Regions from separate parts of the Homo sapiens genome. Here region 2 is linked to region 1. The links are contacts of gene promoters, found by promoter capture Hi-C in human tissues and cell types (Jung and others, 2019). All regions are on one chromosome and are shown on one strand. Each heading gives the region's core, a stretch centred on a gene start or on the middle of the fragment in contact. The rest is flanking DNA. Distances are from core to core; before and after follow the strand shown.

Evidence for each region. The method cuts DNA at HindIII sites, captures the fragments that hold promoters and counts their contacts. A contact is called where the count stands out against the background at its distance.
Region 2: a fragment that was not itself captured here is called in contact with the fragment with the promoter of FIBIN in region 1 in 1 of the 25 tissues and cell types used here (IMR-90 fibroblasts).

What each region holds. Positions count from the first base shown.
Region 1 is chr11:26,990,332-26,997,419 of GRCh38, forward strand. FIBIN (fin bud initiation factor homolog) reads left to right here and starts at 3,781. Exons shown (of 1, transcript NM_203371.2): 1 at 3,781-6,756. The coding sequence starts at 4,196. The coding sequence ends at 4,831. LOC124902650 (a long non-coding RNA gene) reads right to left here and starts at 3,780. Exons shown (of 2, transcript XR_007062630.1): 1 at 3,652-3,780; 2 at 1,568-2,031. The HindIII fragment of the contact is 11,169 bases long and covers 1-7,088 here.
Region 2 is chr11:26,948,083-26,955,170 of GRCh38, forward strand. No RefSeq gene overlaps it. Among named protein-coding and RNA genes, the nearest start is that of FIBIN, 42 kb to the right of the region's middle. RefSeq lists an enhancer at 1,717-2,217. The HindIII fragment of the contact is 4,464 bases long and covers 176-4,639 here.

The sequences.
Region 1 (7,088 bases), core at 2,531-5,030:
GTTCCTGGTCTTCAGCCGTAGATGCAACTCAACTACTGCCCTTATCTACAGATGGTGCTTCTTGATTTTACTCTTCAAAGTCCTCTGTCTGGCATCTCTGTGTTTAGACATTTCCTCTGGCTTTATTCATTCTAGGTCAACCCTCAGAAACCCACCTCAGTTCTAACCTTAGCAGCCCAAGATGGACTTGGGCACATATGAACAACAGAACTAAAAACATTTTAAAAGTGAACATGAAGCATTTAACCAGAAGGCCATGTTGTGCTACTTTCCAAGTCAGTTGTTAAACATGGACATTATTAAAAATAAACTGGCCGGGTGCAGTGGCTCATGCCTGTTATCCTAACACTTTGTGGACCAAGGCAGGCAGATTCCCTAAGCCCAGGAGTTCCAGACCAACCTGGGCAACATTGTGAAACCCTGTGTCTACAAAAGAAAATACAAAAACTAGCCAGGCATGGTGGTGCACACCTGTACTCCCAACTACACAGGAGGCTGAGGCACGAGGATCACTTGAGCCTGGGAGGTTGAGGCTGCAGTGAGCTGTGATCTTGCTACTGCACTCCAGCCTAGGCAACACAGCAAGGCCATGTCTCAAAATAAATACATAAAAAATAAATTAAATAAATAAATAAATAAACTAAACTTTTAACTAAGCTATGTTAAAATAAAGGGAATATATACGCAAAACTAATCACTTCTTAATTATTTTACTAGATTTTTACTATTTTCTATTCTCTTGGGGTTATTTGCATCTAATGTATCTGTATGATGATTATATAATGGTATACCACTGTGCATGTCTTCCCAACTTTGAGTTCAATGACATTAGCCATTGTGAGAGTATTTAGACTAAGGAAATCAACAAATACTACAAATCAGGGTGTTTTCCTCCATATACCCAACTGATCAACACTTATCAGCAAGGGTGGCAGTTTCTCTTCGATGTGGTTAATGAAGACAAAACCATAAGGTAGGGGAATTATTCATGGTTACTTCCCCAGAATGTACTCCCATACTGTTCCTTTCCTTAACAGAACACTAAATAACCCAGCCATATAGTTTGCTTGATACCTTGCCTTCAGCTACAGAATGGGGCCCTTATTGTCTTAAGCAAAGTGGTTTAATCCCAAATCTCACTACAGTAAGCCTGGTTTGAAGACATATTCATGATCCAAATCAGGCCACCCATGACCACTGAGGCTGATTTGAGGGAGCTGCATTTGAGCTACCAGGAAATTCAATCTGTCATTCCTGTTACATATGAATAAAGAAGCACAAAGCTCTGGAAGACACTGGTAATCATCTTAGAACACAAACGAAAGAGACTGCCCATGCATGAATATAAGCTGAGGACATAAACCAAGAAATAGTGAGAGAAAAACTAGGTTGGACTAGGCCTTCTCTGAATATCTAATCTTAGGCTTCCTGTAAGTTAATGCCCTTAGTTAGACTGAAGTGGACTTTTAGTTATTTGTACAAAAATGATTCCTTTCTAATACACAATATGGAGTGTGTATCTTTAGATGAGGTCTTTGCAGGAAGAAAGTAAACACTCTTCACACTCTTCACCCTTCGTATGATAACTTTATATGGGTATATGCCCGACTCTTCAACCAGGGAGCAAGCTCTTTGTAGGCTGAAACTTCTTATTGCACATCTTTGTGTCTGTAGTTACCTTAATACTGCACCCTGCAAGTGGGGAGCAAGTAGTAAGTGCTTAATATAGGTTTGCTTAATTGAATTGGTTAGTAAGTCAGAGAGAGATTGTGCAAGAAATGGAATGAATCAGAGTAAATTCCTCTTCGCTTCTTTGGCCAAGCAGCCAATATGAATCCATCTGTTGTCATTTCTGAATGTCCCAGAGAAAAAGGAATGAAGCAATGTAGCTCTTGAGTCCAACAGTCCAGTCTTTCAACTGAAGGAAGTTGTAGTTTTCTTCTGGGATAGAGTGAAAATAGGCCTTGGTCTTCCACTTGGCATAAACAGTAAGAAAACTCCTTTGGTCTATGTTTCCATGATGCTAAGTATCTGGATAAGAATGAAAATGTGCAGTCAACATGCTTCAGAAACTCCATGCATGTGATACCACATCAGCAAAATATCAAGTTACTTAACCAGACTTCTCATTTTCTCTGCAGGAGTCTGGGTTGTTTATATCCATGAAAGTGATGACAATGAGTATAACTGTCCCAGAACAGTGTGGCACTGTGAGTCTGAATGAAGCCAGTCCCTTATTACTTGGGGAGGGAGATAGGTATGGAACACTGGCAAGTCAACATGAATGTTTCAGTTACATTTCAAGGAAGAAGGAGAAAATACCCATAGAAACAGGAGTGCTGCCTGCTTCTGCTTTCCCATGCTTCCTCTGTTTCTTTTCTTCCACAGCCCTATTGATGTCCAACTTACATCTTATTTATTTACATATTTTTCTTTTTTTGAGAAAAGGTCTTACTCTGTCACCCAGGCTGGACTGCAGTGGTGCGATCTAGGCTCACAGCAACCTCCCTCTCCTGGATTCAAGCAATACTCCTGTCTTAGCCCCCTGAGTAACTGGGATTACAGGCATGCACCACCATGTCCAGCTATTTTTTTTTTTTTTTTTTGTATTTTCAGTAGAGATGGAGTTTCACCATGTTGGTCAGGCTGGTCTCGAACTTCTGACCTCAAGTGATCCACCCACCTCTGCCTCCCAAAGTGCTGGAATTACAGACGTGAGCCACCACGCCTGACCTATTTTCAAAAATTTAAGTTTTCTATTTCCCAAAATATAAGTGCCAGGAAGGCAAGGATTTGTCTTTATTTTTGTTCACAGCTGTATTCCCACTACCTCAAATAGATTTTGGCATGCAGTAAATGCTCAAGAAATATTCATTAAACAAATGAATGGCCTTTAGGATGGCCATTTGCCAATAAGTTCATAAATTAGAAATTAAAATGGCCAGGTTAAAAAAAAAAAAAAAAACATTGTTTTTCTCCCCCCAAGTTAAATTAAAAGACCTTGTGACAATTAGTTCTGGCTCAACTAAAGTCTAACTGTGTGACTATAATCAATTTGCTTAACATTCTGCTCCTTCATTTCTCCATCTGGAAAATGGGCATAATAGTACCAGAAACATTCTTCAAAAGCTTTCAAGACTCTCAAAAGAGGCAACAACTATAAAAGCATTAGGTTCAAGATTCAATGCAGATGCTTAGCATTGTTTCATAAAATTAAATAAGGATCTCATTGTCCTTTAACTCACTAAGCTGGCAAAATTTCATTTTTCTGCTTCTGTTCTTATACATACTAAAGACTATACATTAAGCAACTTTCTGTATTTTCATTTCATCCAAAGTATTGTTGATATAAATTTTAATTAACCAATCATTTTCAAACAAAACTGTAATTTCTGACACTTTAAATTTGCCTTCAAAGTCACAAAGTTTTAAAGATAAAAATAGATATACTCAGAAAATCCAACCTGATATTTATTGAGACACGTGAAATGGCATTTTTCCAGGGTAATCATTCCTTCCCCCTCCCAATATGTCAATAACAAACCAGGGTTTTTGTGGTGGAAATTCCATTTATTCTCTTCTCATTTTCTCTTTCGAGCTAAATTCTATTGTAGAGTCTTCCCTTCCAACCTTTAAAAAGCGACCCTGTACCTTTAATAGTGGAGACCTGGTGAGAGGTTCTTTTCCAAACTTGTTCCCTGGCTTCCAAGTGACGAAACCAGCTGTAATTTGAGAGCAGAGAGATCCTCAGGATATCTTTAGCCAAAGGAAAAGCTCCGCATTCCCACCCAGTCCAGAAATTGAAATACTATCAGGGGGCAAGAGCCTTTCTCTCCAGCTACACACTCCATCTCCCGGGAGCAAGGGGAAACTCCGAGAGGAGGGCAACAGAGCCAGCATCTTGCCAGGGCCCCGGAGGAGGGGTTCCCCGCTACGCCTGTGCCGGAGGAGTTCCAGTCACCGAGCGAGGGGCGCAAGGGTGGGTGCATCCTGCGCTGCGGCGGGCGCGCTACCCAGACGCTGGTGTGCAGAGCCACATGAAGCCTGCTGGGGACTGGGGGCCAGGGAGCAGCAAGCCAGCTGGGACTGAGGCGGACGCTGTCTCAGGGAGACGCTGACTCGCAAAGACACTCCCTTCCTTGTGCCTGGGTAAAAAGTCTCCTCCTGGGGTCCCTGGCCATCCTGAATATCCAGAATGGTGTTTCTGAAGTTCTTCTGCATGAGTTTCTTCTGCCACCTGTGTCAAGGCTACTTCGATGGCCCCCTCTACCCAGAGATGTCCAATGGGACTCTGCACCACTACTTCGTGCCCGATGGGGACTATGAGGAGAACGATGACCCCGAGAAGTGCCAGCTGCTCTTCAGGGTGAGTGACCACAGGCGCTGCTCCCAGGGGGAGGGGAGCCAGGTTGGCAGCCTGCTGAGCCTCACCCTGCGGGAGGAGTTCACCGTGCTGGGCCGCCAGGTGGAGGATGCTGGGCGCGTGCTGGAGGGCATCAGCAAAAGCATCTCCTACGACCTAGACGGGGAAGAGAGCTATGGCAAGTACCTGCGGCGGGAGTCCCACCAGATCGGGGATGCCTACTCCAACTCGGACAAATCCCTCACTGAGCTGGAGAGCAAGTTCAAGCAGGGCCAGGAACAGGACAGCCGGCAGGAGAGCAGGCTCAACGAGGACTTTCTGGGAATGCTGGTCCACACCAGGTCCCTGCTGAAGGAGACACTGGACATCTCTGTGGGGCTCAGGGACAAATACGAGCTGCTGGCCCTCACCATTAGGAGCCATGGGACCCGACTAGGTCGGCTGAAAAATGATTATCTTAAAGTATAGGTGGAAGGATACAAATGCTAGAAAGAGGGAATCAAATCAGCCCCGTTTTGGAGGGTGGGGGACAGAAGATGGGGCTACATTTCCCCCATACCTACTATTTTTTTATATCCCGATTTGCACTTTGAGAATACATCTAAGGTCATCTTTCAAAAGAGAAAAATTGGACACTTGAGTGACTTTGTTTTTAGTTTTGTTTTTGTACATTATTTATGTGATTGTTATGGAATTGTCACCTGGAAAGAACAATTTTAAGCAATGTCATTTCTAGATGGGTTTCTAATTCTGCAGAGACACCCGTTTCAGCCACATCTAAAAGAGCACAGTTTATGTGGTGCGGAATTAAACTTCCCCATCCTGCAGATTATGTGGAAATACCCAAAGATAATAGTGCATAGCTCCTTTCAGCCTCTAGCCTTCACTCCTGGGCTCCAAAAGCTATCCCAGTTGCCTGTTTTTCAAATGAGGTTCAAGGTGCTGCTTTGCATGCCTGCCAACCCATGGAAGTTGTTTCTTACTTCTTTTCTCTCTTATTTATTAACCATGGTCTGAGAGTTGTTTTTGTTCTATGTAACAGTATTGCCACAAAACTATAGGCAAATCGTGTTTGCAGGGAGATTTCTGATGCCTCTGTGGGTGTGTGTAAGTTAAAGTGGCCACATTTAAGAAGGCCAAGCTTTGTAGTGGTTGCACAGTCACACTGATATGCTGATTTGCTCTTTCTCATTGTATGTCTATGCTTTGTCATCAGTGCTATAGTAAATTACAAAGAAATAGGTAGATTGTATGAACATACCCACAAATGCCTATGATTTAGGTTACCAATGTATTCTTTCTCATTTGGGGTTTTGCTTCTGTCTGTCTGTTTATTGGAAACTTGTACTTCAAGTAGGGGGAATCCTAATTCTAATAACTCCTTAGCTAAGTTTTATTATTCAGGCAATAAACATGTTTTCATGTAATACTGGCTTACTTTGTAATTTACATCTGTAACTTTCATATTTCTAAAAGGGGCCAATGCAAAAGGAGAGAGAAGGACTGGATTTAAGCCAGTTTACTTAGAGTATATGATAAAGAAGGCAGAGGAATAGCTACATATTTGGCAATTCTCCTCTCTGTAGTCACCCTGACATCCTCACAAGAAAACAAATCTAGCCATTGCCCAAACTTTAAATTTGATCTCTATAGGTCTGCTTAAAGACTCAAATTTTCTCCAGTTTCTCTCATAAATTCAATTGCAAAAGTTTCTGACAAGGCTCATACCCTGTACCCTTATGCAGAGCAAGCATTCCATCCTAAGTTATAAACTACAGTGATGTTTAATTTTGAAGCCAGGTCTACATTATTTAATTAATGGCTTCAAAAGGTGGAGATGCACTTTATTTAATGTCTTTCCCTAGCTAATTCTTACTCTCACCTTAAATATGCTTTCTTGTTGCATATATGCACAGATACACACACACACACACACGAAAATAAATAAATGTTCATATTCTTCTGTTCAACAGACATTTATTTTCTCCTCTCCCTTGAATAAGAAAATAAGTTTTCCATTCCTATGAACTGTCTAATATCTTTCTATTACAGAAGGGGAAACTGAGGCTGGGAAAGGCTAAATGACTTATCCTCCATCAGTTATAACAGCCCCTGGTCTTCTTAAATTTAAACACGGGACTTCCCGAACTAATTTTTTTAAGGATACTGAAAAATGAGAGAGAGTGGTCGAATGCCTGAAATTTTGCTTAACTTACTGTACTTAAAATCAATTATAACTTCTTTTTGTTACTCAGGGCCCCACTTTTTGTTGCTTTCTAGACTTGTGTGTAGAAAGAAGATTAATGATCACTTAAAGTAGTTTCCTTCTTTATTCTGAAAAAATGAGGAAAAAATAACAACAGTGGCAAATAAAATCATATTTGGTACTAAAATGTTTGTAGTTTGAAGTCACAATCATTCATGCCTCAAAACATTTATATCACTCACTTCATAGTGATCATTTGGTAATTCATAGACTTACAAATGTCATCTCCTTGATTTTCCCAGCTGTAATGGGAGGATATTGGGCATGTGATAGTGATGGAAAACTGTTTTCCCTGTGCATGCTAATTTCAATCTATTGGTAATGCTTCCATACCATATTATGTTATCAAGGATTCAAAAGACACAGAAGTGAAGAGTGTCATCCCTAATTAGAGATATCTTCCATGGGTGCAGGAAGGGGAATGGTAACACATCTGCTACAAATTTGAAAACCCTGAAA
Region 2 (7,088 bases), core at 1,158-3,657, 44 kb before region 1:
AAGTAAGAATTTAAATTGCAATTGTCATAAATATTGCAAAAGACAGCTGACCAATGAATTTAGTCATGTCATAGTTTTTATAGCTTTAGGCTGTTCTGCATGTGTGCAAAGTGTTGGTCATTATGTTGCAGAATCCAGTAAAACCAGAATCTACTAAAAATGAGCCTTCAACTTCCATTTTTTAAATTAGAACATTATCTTAGGCCCTCCCGCTTTGGTACTACCTGTGACAATTTTCTGCCTTCCCTTCATCCAATATCTACTCAACTTCTGACTCATTAGTTCCCATTCTGTGTGCTTTTGTTTTTACTGATGAGAATTCTGTTTTTGCATCCATCATGCACAATGAAACACCCTTCTAGGAGAAGATTAGACAAGGATGACTTCACTTAACTAATGGTCAGTCCCAGGACAGAGCTAGACTCAGAGGGTGCCTTTAGGGATAGGGCTGAGCAAAGCCTTTGGCCAATTATGAAGGCAAGCCTTCTCTTTGATGACCCACACTTCCTCAGTAGGCACTATTTCTTCCTGTTCCTTTTTTTCTTTCTTTCTTCGCTTAAAACAACCTTTTTCCTTATCTCTAGCTTTCAAAATCATATTAGTTCTTCAAATACCACCTTAATTGTCACCCTTTCTATGGGATTTTCCTGCTTCCCACATGCCTGATAGGCAGCTCCTTTAAACTCCCTTAGTACTTTGTAGTTCTGTTGGGATATCAGAGCCTGTCTTATTTTATTTTGCTGATATTTTATTTTGCTTCTAACTAAAATGAAACTATCTCATTCATCTCTGTATTCTATGCAGCCAGTGGTACAAAACTTTACATACAGTATGTACTTAATTAGAATACTTTAATATAGATCTTCAAGTTAAAGTAAGCTTATTTTTGAATCTTGACACTGCCTTTTACAAGGAGACAATTCACTTATCTCTGGACCTGCTTATTCATCTCATCAAAAAGTAGAATAACAACAGTGACTTTATAGGGTTGCTAGGAGCAGCAAATGATGTGTCATATGGAAATCCCTAGCCTAGAATATGGTTCATTGGGGAATTCTATAAGTGTTTGTTACCTTTTCTTCTCAATATCATTTATTGAATTAAAAATGAATTGAAACTAAGGAAACTGAATTTGAAAGATATTGAATAACCCACATTTTCCCAAAATTCTACTTCACTTTTTTTTTTGTAATTCCGTTGTTTAGAGCAAGTGTCTGTAGTCAAAACCTATGGGCCAAATCTGGTCAAACACTTGTTTTTGCAAATGAAGTTTACTGAAACTCACTGTGCACATTCATTTACATATTTGCTATGACTTCTTTCACAATACACCTGTAAAGTTCAATAGCTGCAACAGAGATCTTATGGCCATGGCTGGCAATGCCTAAAATACTTAATCCCCTAATCCCTAGCCTTTTGCAAGAAAAGTTTGCCAACCCATGGTTTCTAGTTAAGTTGGGGCTCTTTTTTCAGAAAACTTCTATGAATATTCAAATATAGTATCTCCAATAGGTGATGTGTCAAGTCACTTGCACTTGTTGTCATATTACCTTAGATCAAATTACCAGATGAGATCTGAAAGCAAATAGTAAGAATTAAGGGAGAAACTCTGGCAGTGGCAATAAAAGAAGGGAAGTACTGGGCCAAAGATGTTGACTCACAAAATAGAGAAATAAGCTTTGTTTTGTGAGTAGGGGAGTGAAGAGCTGATAATCAGCCATGAAAGCAATGGTTGGTGAACCCAAAGAAATGAAATCTGAGTAAGAGGAAGAGCAGTGGCAATAGTAATACTAGTTACCCATCTTTACCAGAATTCCCAAGAACACAGAGATTGAGACAAAGGCTATATGCTAACGCCCCCCAAATTATTGAGACTGAAATCCCTGAAAACAGAAGTAAAATAAAGGGAGGAATGAGTCATGGAAAGGCTCAATAGCATGCTCATAGCAAGCACTGCTGAATGCTCAGTCCCACAGGGCATCTTGAGAGAACTGCCTGAAACTACTGCACTCTAGAGCTGTCAGGGAGCAAAAAGAAAGCCCAGCTCTGAGCTCCTGTTACTCAAAGTGTTCACAGGATATTGAGTCCACCTCATCTCAGAATTGCACCTTTCCACCTGGGGAAGCCAGAACCTGAGGCAGCAGCAGTGACATCCACGGCACAAGTCACGGCATGAGGGGTGAGCCCATAGGTGCCCGTGAGCCTCATCTGCAGCCTGCAACTGGCAGTCTTGCTGGCCTGGCTGAGTAAACCAAGGCACCAATGTGGGCACCTCTCAAGGTCTGTTGAGCCTCAGGGGCAACAGGGAAGCACTGGCATGGGAAGTACAAAGTGAGGCAAGCCACCGCCAGGTCATGAAAGCCAGCGACACAAGGCAGCAAGAAACTTCCTCACAGTGGGGCTGTTTGGCCAAGTAATAGAGTACCAAAAAGACACAGCCCCCACCATGGAGAGCTGCCATGTGGATTAATCGAAATCCAAACATCCCTTCTGTGGCCTGCAGGAAAACATTTGACATTGGGCAATCTTCATTGAGAGTCATCAGCCACATAGACAAACACTCACAGAATCTGCAGAGGCTCTTAAACTAAGGCCAGCACATTACAGCGACTGCTATTGAGCACCTTATTGAGCACCTGCTATAGCTAGGCTATCTTCAGACGTCTATATATTTTTAATCCTCAGGATACCACCATGAGGGCGAAACACTAGTCTGCACTTTACATATGAGTAAACCCAGGCCCAGAGTAGTTAAGTAACTTGTTCAGATACTTTCACTTATTTGGGGCATGTGGAAAAGAGACCAAATCCCTCCTAGGTGGCCCCAGGGAACAGAACTGAGGCCAATGAGTAGAAATTACTAGAAACCAGTACTGAGAATAGGAACTTTCTAAGAGTCTGAGCCAGTTTTCCAACAATCAGGAGAGAAAGTAAGGTGCCCACGGATGGCACTAATGAGTACATTGTGGATTTCTCTGGGAGAAAAGCAGGATTCTTTGCTCTGGTGAAGATTGAACTAGATGAAGCCAGAAGTTTTCCAGAATCAATACCAACACACTTTTACTGATGTCATTTTAACATCAATGCAGGAGAAGAAAAGATACTTATAAAATAATGGAAATATCCACCAGTATTCAGCTTTTAATATGTACCAAGCACTTGGCAAATAGCCAGATATATATATATATATATATATATAAAATTTAGTCTTCATAACAACTATGAGTTAATTATTATCATTATTGTCAATTCACAAAAGAGAAAACTGAGACCGGCAGAGGTAAATCACAGAACCTTGCCCAAGGTTCCCAGCTAGTAAATGTCAATAATTGACTGCCTGCTAAAGCCAGTGCTCTGCTCTGCTGCCTCAAATATTCTGCATTTGCCTGTTGTTCTGAACTCAAAATTTTGGAGCCTGAGCACCTGTGAAAGAAAAGCCACATGTAAAGACACTAGATGGGTCATTTTGGTAGATAAAGTTGTGTTTTAAACAGCTTTTACTTTTTTTCTGTCCACGTTCTCTGAAAATCCTTTCCTCATGAATCCTTTATTTTTCCATTACATTTAAACACCTCCCAGACTGTTTGCTGCCATTTAAAATGTTTTGAAAAGCATTTTTGCAGGTTTCTTCCAATGAAAAACTAACAAAGTCATCAAAAGACAGACTGTTTTTTTTCCCCGCCTCAGAGTAAAAATCACATTGGGGAACAACAAGGAAATTAAAATAAGAAAAAATAGCACTGGGAGCAAGACATTAGTATGACAAAGGGCTCATGACTGGTAATAATTTTAGGTGATACAGGCATAGTCAAGTCTGCAGAAAATAAAAATAAAAAAGGAGAAAAACTTCAGCATTCTGAAGCCTCTGGCACCAAAAAGCCAGTGACAAGATAGCCCAAAACTGCATCCATGGAAAATCACAGCTGCAGCAAACCGCAGGCTGATGGCTAAAAGCTACCGCTGCATTGTTTCCAATCTCCGCCTGAGACAGCACACATTTATCAGTGGTCTGTAATGCCTCGCAGCAAAAAATCTTTAACTGCTTAAACTATATTTTAATTTTGAAAAGACACATCTTGCTGCAATTTACTTTTTTTATTTTTCCACCCTAACAGAAATGTTTCGCCTTGAGTTATAATCTAACACTTTCCTCTTTTTGGGGTTGAGACTGTAGGCTCTGGAATCAGACTGCTCTGGTTTTTAATGTTGGTTCAAATACCTAATTTAGAGATGTGACCCTTAGATAAGTTACTTCACCATGCTAAATCTCCATTTCCTCATCTGTAAATAGAGATGATAGTAGCTCATTCCTTATACAGCTGTTACTTGGAGTAAATGAAATAATGTATGCTAAGTGCTTGAAACAGATCCCAGCACTTAGTACATTTTTTTAAAAAAATTAGCAGTGACTATCATTTTTCGTCCCCTTCTGTCCATGTGAAAGAAAGAGGTTATTTTTCTAAGGAAGTCAAAATCTGAGGATAGACCACGTATCAAACTGTTGAGGGCCAAACTTGTAAATAAAGTTACATAAGTTTCAGAAAAAGTTAATTTTCCACCCCACCTTCCTGTGCCCATCATCTCTTCCAACTTGTCCTTTTAAGATACTCAAAATTTCCATGTGCCTCAGATTCCAGTCCAAGATACATGCCCTCTGGGTGGGATACTCCCATGAATGTTTTCTCCAGAGACAGCTCAACTTCTACCTCTTGCTCTGCCTTCCACGATAAAGACCCTTCCTTGACCTGCAACTGTAATTCCTCTTTCTGTAAAAGGTTCTCATTCTCAAGATAATACAGGAATTATGAGAAGATTCAATGAGATGATACATGTAAAGTTCTTAGAGTAGTTGCTGGCACATAGTAAGACTAAGTGTCAGCTATTAATGTCTAATATTAATACTCCTCCTTTCCCCTTGACAAAAACAAAACTCCTTTATCTGTGTGGCCTCATGGCCCTTCTACTTACTCTCTGTTATATCAGTAGGTTATCCTGCTCATGCAGTATATGACTTTTTTTGTTTTTGAGACGGAGTCTCGCTCTGTTGCTCAGGCTGGAGTGCAGTGGCATGATCTCGGCTCACTGCAAGCTCTGCCTCCTGGGTTCACGCCATTCTCCTGCCTTAGCCTCCTGGGTAGCTGGGATTACAGGCGCCCGCCACCACACCCAGCTAATTTTTTCTATTTTTTAGTAGAGACGGGGTTTCACTGTCTTAGACAGGATGGTCTGGATCTCCTGACCTCATGATCCACCTGCCTCGGCCTCCCAAAGTGCTGGGATTACAGGTGTGAGCCACCGCGCCCAGCCAGTATATGACATTTTAAACAACTCCAATTCTTGGACCACAAAAGGATGAATGACTAATGGTGAGCACTGGGAATCTGACCATTATGGCCTCCTCCTGAAGTCACATGTGACTCTTGCCCCAATTTATTCGATATCTTGTCTGTATATCCCCCATCATAGCTCTTCTTATACCTAATTGCTGTTGTACGTTCCATGTCTCTCTCTCTCCCACTGGATTATGTGCTTCTTAAGGGAAAAACATTAATCTTATTTATCTATTTTTTTTCCAAAATCTCATAAAGTAGGTATAATATGCTTATTTACATTTTTAGATAGAACAACTCCTTGGGACCAAGTTTAAATCCTGGCACAAAGATAGCTACATCTTGAGTCTATAAGGGAACCAAGTCGTACCCCTTACAAGTGGCAAAATCAGGTACGTTATATATATGTGCACAATTTAAGCAGTTGGATCTACTTTGCTTTAAAACCTGACACTCTACTGGTATACTACTTTGCTTCTAACTGAACAGCTACTGCCGTTCTATTCTAATGGGGGCCATTTAACAAAAAATGCAGAGACTGTCATAGAAGTCTGTGATTGCCTGTGGCATTTGCCTATCTCACCCTTGACTAGGCCTCTACTCAAGCTGTTCACTGTGATGCAGGATCTACTGGCAGCCCTTGAGCCTGGTTGCTTAGTATATTAAGCAATATACTAATGATTATATATGGCATTATCTATACTTTATTTCTGGCATAAAAACTTTTGCTTTTTGATTTTTAATAGAAACCAGACATCACGTCATTGATGTGTCATCAAAAGCAGTGCCAGACTTCCTGTTCTCCCTGGGAAGGATTCAATGGCTAGTGAAAAATACATAGAGGAGGTCACCCTGGGGATTCAGCCCAAATATACACACGCCAAAAAAATGCCAAATCCAGGGCCTCAAGATATGAATTCAGTTTTGCACAGATGCAACGGGGCAGCTTCTGAACTGAACTGCCAGCAAGCCTCGGATTTTCATTCTTTGGTCAAATAGGGATGTTCCAACATTATTTCAATGTCTGTGCCATAAGCAAGATTCACAGAGGTGAAATACGTGTATATTTACCCACATATATAGATATGGCACCTTCAAAGAACAAATATATAAATGGTTCAATCTTCCAGAATAAATTAAAATTGTATAATTATAGAGGTAACAGATGTGTCCTGACATACTGGTGGAGTACATAAATAGTAGAAGACTGTGTGTGCATTAGAGTCTGAGGAAAAATAACTTTATGAAATTCTGGTACAAATCATGTGTACAATTTCTCCTTTTTGTAATATCATAAAATATTAATATTACTGACTATTGTTAATCAAGTTGTACCAAAGGGAGCTACACATTTTTAAGGAGGTTATCTCCAAGTTTGCACTCAGGAAAAAATATATAACATTTGCAAACTGCATAACTTAAATGGCCTTGCATACTCACTCTATCAAATGCATTTGGGAAGAGGTTCATTCCTTTGTTAGGGTCTAACATAATTGCCTATGGGATGTCCATTGTAAGCTAGCCTTGAGGAGCCACAAACCCCATACTTCAAAATATTATAAAGAGGCTGGTGCTATGAAGGAGGTCAGAAGCCTGCAGAAACTCCAGTATAAAGCTCAGAAAAAATGTCTGTGTTTGTTCATCCTCAGGGCATTCCTACTCCAGGACAAGGGGCACTTGGAGAGAGTAAAGTCTCCCACCTTCCAAAGGCTACAGGTAATAAGGATAGTATCTAATAATGTTTGATTGTTGTATTTA